2 separate regions of the Homo sapiens genome follow, and region 1 is linked to region 2. Evidence: promoter capture Hi-C in human tissues and cell types (Jung and others, 2019). All regions are on one chromosome and are shown on one strand. Each heading gives the region's core, a stretch centred on a gene start or on the middle of the fragment in contact. The rest is flanking DNA. Distances are from core to core; before and after follow the strand shown. Region 1 has its middle 85 kb from the start of OTUD1. Region 2 holds the start of PTF1A (pancreas associated transcription factor 1a).

Region 1 (2,700 bases), core at 198-2,697, 330 kb before region 2:
GGTGCCTTCTGTGCCACCCAAGTCAACTCTCTAATGACAGCCCTGCGGAACTGGCTTGCTGGGCCTATTTCTTTCCAAGTCTTAGTCCCCAGAATTTTGAACACCCTGCTTTTTACATGGTTTTCCTTAGTGTTAAAAGAACATAATCACAGCAAGATAACAATTCTACAAAACTAAAAGAACCTAACCAAACTAACACCAGATAGAAGGTACACAGAGTCTTTGCTTAAAAAAAAGAAAAAAGAAAAGAAAAGAAAAGAAAATGACCATTACTCTATGTATTTATAGCCACTGGTAACGTCTTCATATTCCTTTTGAAATGCACTGGTGATTTCCAAACACCCTACCCCAAAGTATGGCACCTTGACATACTGAATATTTCAAGCTGAAGGAATGTGTGAAAACAGCAGAAACAGGAAGGTCTCTCTGGCCTTCATTTGTCCTCTCCTGAAGCAGGGCATAAGAATCTCATGTGAAAGCTACCCACCCTATACCCAGAAAGAAAAAATCTCTGAAGACACAGGGACATGGAAGAATTTGAACAAATAGGTTTGCTAAGTTTCCCCAAGTTTATTACCATTAGATCATACCCTTTTTTCCCACTCATATTTCTCCACAACTGTCCACTCTTGATCAAACCAGCTATAAAAAACCACTCAAGTTTGGCTGCATGTAGTGGCTCATGCCTATAATCTCGGCTGTTTGGGAGGCCAAGGAAGGAGGATCACTTGAGGCCAGGAGTCCAAGACTAGCCTGGGCAATGCTGCAAGGCTCCATCTCAAATAAAAATTTTAAAATATTTTTTAAAAACATTTGAGTTTAACTGTGTCTTTGAATCTTCATTTCCCTATGAAGGCTCCTGTGTCACATAAAACTTACATTAAATACATTTGTATGTGTTTTATTTTGTTAATCTGTCTTTTGTTACAGGGGCCTCAGCCAGGAACCTAGGATGGGTGAGGAAAAGATAGTTTCCTCTCCTACAGCATAAATAAAATTCCCAGGTTGGGAGGGAGAAGAAATGCTATTGAGCACCTACAGTCTTTAGAATGGAATTGTAGCAATGGAGCTAACAGACTTTTCTGCCAGGTTGTGTGATCCTGGGGGACAGAGCCCTGTCTGTTCCTGTTCATGTCTGATATGGTATGGGTCTATGTCTGCACCCAAATCTCATGTCAAATCGTAATCCCCAGTGTTGGAGGTAGGGCTTGGTGGGAGGTGATTGGATCACTGGGGTGGATCCTTCATGAATAGTTTAGCACCGTCTGGTTGGTGCTGTTCTTGTGAGAGAGTTCTCATGAGATGTGGTTGTTTAAAGTGTGTAAAACCTCGCTGCCCCCGCACCCCACCCCTGCTCTTGCCCCTGCTCCTGCTCCTGCTCCTACCGTGTGAGAGGTCTCGCTCCCCCTTTGCCATCCACCATGATTGTAAGTTTCCTGAGGTTCCCCCAAGGAGCCGAGCAGATGCCAGGATCATGCTTCCTGTATAGCCTGAAACACTGTGAGCCAATTAAACTTCTTTTCTTTGTAAATTACCCAGTCTCAGGTATTTCCTTATAGCAATGCGAGAACGGCCTAATACCATGCACTTGCTTCAGTGTGCTGCAGGTTATTACCCACATAAATCTATGCTGAGTCGATTTCACTTTTTTCAGAATGTTTGTAAACTAACACACATTTGATGTAAATAAGAAAACAATGATGTCAAAAATAAAAACTGTAAGACAGAGGTGGTGACTGAGAAAGATGATAACTAAAATGTTATCTCAAGAGGAGAAGGGAGTGGCTGGCCAGGGCTTCCTTAGAGTGAGGACAACAACTTGCACTGGAACCCATTTTCATCCCTAAAAGAAAAATCCACAGTACTGCAGGAATGACAGAGCTGGAAAAGGCTTTTCAGATCCTCTTGAGTCAACCCTCTTATTTTACAGTTGAGAAGTTCATAGCTGAAAGTAACGTGCCTATGTTCTCTCAGCCAATGAGAGATGAAAGCAAGACAATGAATTATTTTATCCTCACCTCACCAATGGTCTCAACTGCTCCACGTGGTGGTGGCCACTTCTCTGGTCCTGGCATCCAGAATAGACCTGGCTTGACAGGAGAGAGGGTTTCTTGAAAAACCAAGCCCCACCTCAGAGTTCATGTCAAAACCACTTGATTACTTCCAGGGTAAAGGTTGCTGGGTCTCTGTCCAGCATCAGTGAGAAATAAGGAGCTGGTGGTGTTACTGCCATTTGCATTTTGCCCAGACGCATGGATATGGGAGACTTCCATACCAGTCCAAAGCCCCTGCCAAGGACAGGCCACGAGGGGGCCCAGTTCCTCAAAATGCTTCCTTTAGGTCTTTCAAGGATTCTTGGCCCCAGAGTTTCCAAAAGACCTAGATGACCGGAAACACTTTGGTGATGTGATGCAAGTCAAATCAGGAGTTAGCACAAGGAGAGATATTCCATGCAAAAGTATAATTCTAGAATCCCGGAGTGAGGTAGGCCTGGCTATCAGCAGAAATCAGTAATCCTATCACACTGCCTAGTCAGGTGGCTTTTTCATGCTACTTCAAATGTGCATGTCAAACACCTACAAACACTTCAGTTGTACAGTAACTACAACCCACAAGATGGTGACTATTTAATAGATGCTAAAGCAAATAAATAAGTGCCTACTGATTCCATTCATGTATTCAATCACCTATTCAACCCTG
Region 2 (2,700 bases), core at 196-2,695:
GTGTCCTGCTAGGGGAGGGAGGCCATAATCAGGGTCGCTGGGGGAGGGGGACCCTGGACAGGTGAGAAGAGAAAACAGACTGTGAATATCCAACCACATTCCCATTGGTCCCATCAGGTCCTTTAGGACCCTTTCCTGGGTGCTCTCCGGTTATACTAGAACCACCCTCTTCCTCCACACTTCAAGTCCCCACCGTCCCCTCCCAGGAATCCGAGGAGCTGCAAGTCTGGCGGGGACGCGCGCCCTTGAGAGCCGCGGTCAACGTGGCAGAAAAATAAAAAAAAAAAAAAAAACGAGAAACGCGAGCTCGCATTCAAGTTTTTCCGTGCCCACCGACAATCCGTCGGTCCGACTGTCTGCTTGGCAGTCAGCTCCCCCAGCCCCTCCGGAGCCTTCGAGTGCCCGACCCCTTCTCCCTGAGCTGGGAAGCGGAAGCACTTACGGGTGCCCCGATGGCAGATGATGACCTTCTGGGCCTGGCTGCCCGGGCTGTCCCCGCCCAGGCGCCCGCCGCCGCCCGGCCCCCCGCAGCCGCCCGCGCCACCGCCGCGCAAGGGCAGGTCGGCCTGCACGAGCTCGCTGAGGAAGTTGATGTAGCCGATGGCCAGGCGCAGCGTGTCCACCTTGGAGAGGCGCTTCTCGTAGGGCAGCGTGGGGATGTGCGAGCGCAGCCCCTCGAAGGCGTCGTTGATGGACTGCATGCGCCGCCGCTCGCGCACGTTGGCCGCCTGCCGCAGCTGCTGCAGCTCCGCCTCGGAGCGCACCCGCCGCCGGCGCCGCGCCGCCGCAGCCGCCGCTCCGCTCAGGCCGCGCAGCCGCGCCCCGGGAGACAGTACTGCCGCCCCGGCGCACGGGTAGGCCAGGCACGAGGGCGGCGAGCCGGGCGAGTAGGGGAAGCCGCCTGGGGGCGCCCCCGTCTCGCAGCAGTAGCCGCCGCCGCCGCCGTCGTCTGGCTCACCGAGGCCCCCCGAGGACGGCGGGGCGAGCGCTAGCGGGGCGGCCGGGGGCGCGGGCTGCAGCAGCAGGCACGCCCCGTCGCGGTAGCAGTACTCGTGGAGCTGGTGGCTAAGGAACTCCACCTCGGCCTGCTCGTCCGCCAGCAGCTCATCGCCGTCCTCCAGGGGGTCCCGTGAAGACTGGTCGGTGAAGAAGTCGTCCTCGTCGAAGTACGAAGAAGGAAAGGCGTCTAGGCCCCCGGGGAAGTGCTCCAGCAACACCGCGTCCATGCTCGCCGCCGCAGTGGGCAGCGGGACTGCCGGGCTGCGCGTGTTAGTTCTTGGTGAGTTTCTAAGGCCCGTCCGAGCCCCTCCCTCCCGGGGCCCTGGCTGGGGGCAGCTAGGCGGCCGCCGGGCTGCCCGCCCCCGGGCCTCCCTGGAGTGCCCGCGGCCGCTGCGCTCTGGCCCGCGCTCGCGCTGCGCTGGGGAGGGCTGTGGCGGACTTCCTGGAGCTGAGGGCCGGCACGCGAGGATTCTTATAACAACATCCATAGGCGCGTGCCAGGGACCCATCGCGCCAGCCAATCAGAGCGCGGTGTGCCGGCGGCGAGGGGGCCCGGAGGCGCGGCGGTGGGCGGGGGTGGGGGGCGTTTTGCTCCCTTTGGGAGCTCCTGGGGCGAGGAAAAGGCGGGGTCGCGCGGCCCGGGGCTCCTCGCACCGCTCTCTTCCCTCTCCTCTGCCTCTGCATACTGGATTCTGTACCTGCCCCGCGTGCGGCTCCAGGGGCACCTGCGTCCCGCGGTGCCCGCTGCGTACCCGCGCGCGCTGAGCAGCGCCGGCTCCTTCCGCCCTGGGACTGGGGCAGCCGCGCGCCGCGTCTACACGCGGCCAGAGAAGTTCCTAGGGGTGCGCGCCGGTGGCCCAGACGGCGAGAGCGGAGCCCGCGCGGCGATCGTCCTCCTCCGCGGCAGCCTGGGCAATCTAAGGGTGCTGCCCTCAGGGACCAGGTGGGTGCATTCCGCCACCCCCTTATCCGAGGTGCGCGGGGCTCCGGCCTGGGTTCTGCTGGGGGCTTCTGTCCCATCTCTGGACTTTTCAAGGGCTTTTGCACAGTTTGCAGAGTATATGCGGGTGTCATTGGAAGGTGATCCGGGCCCACTCCCACTGCGTTCCAGACGCAACACGGGGGCTGGGAGCGCACCTATGGGACTCCGCTCTGGAGCCTGGCTGTGGTGCCTGGTGCGGGTCCCCAGCGACATCGGCTCAGTGGCTGCCTCCCCTGCCCTCCCCGGCCCGGAGAAAGGAATGGGGAGACGGGAGGGGCAGCCCCCAGAGCAGCTCAGCGGGGCGCGTTTCTTCTGAGAGCAAATCTAGACCCTAGGGATTCTGAGCAATAAACTGGATACAAAAGGAGTCCATTGAATCGTCTGCTCCGGCGCAGTCCGGAGGGAAGGCATTGAAGTTAAAGGGCAGAATGTGAATCGTTTTCAAAGCCCGAGTCTCTCACCTTTCCGACTGGCCACAGGGACCATCCCTGAATGACTTGTTTTTTTCTTTCTCGACCTTTCTTTTCTGAAAAAAAAAAAAAACACAAAACGTATGCAGCTCTGCCCCAAGACAGACTTTATCACAGACTGCGATGCAACGTGAATTCCTCTTTTTAAGAGCAACAAAGAAACACTTTCAAGGTCTGGGCAATTCCGGTTAAAAGCCAGGCTGCAGCTTCCACCCCGGGAGAGTTCAGAAGCGCAGCCATCGTGCGTAT

What was found. The method cuts DNA at HindIII sites, captures the fragments that hold promoters and counts their contacts. A contact is called where the count stands out against the background at its distance.
Region 1: a contact is called between a fragment that was not itself captured here and the fragment with the promoter of PTF1A in region 2, in 1 of the 25 tissues and cell types used here (H1 embryonic stem cells).

The regions. Positions count from the first base shown.
Region 1 is chr10:23,522,902-23,525,601 of GRCh38, reverse strand. No RefSeq gene overlaps it. Among named protein-coding and RNA genes, the nearest start is that of OTUD1, 85 kb to the right of the region's middle. The HindIII fragment of the contact is 6,427 bases long and covers 1-2,700 here.
Region 2 is chr10:23,191,057-23,193,756 of GRCh38, reverse strand. It overlaps PTF1A (pancreas associated transcription factor 1a), which reads right to left and starts at 1,445. Exons shown (of 2, transcript NM_178161.3): 1 at 443-1,445; 2 at 1-53. The coding sequence starts at 1,226. The HindIII fragment of the contact is 16,553 bases long and covers 1-2,700 here.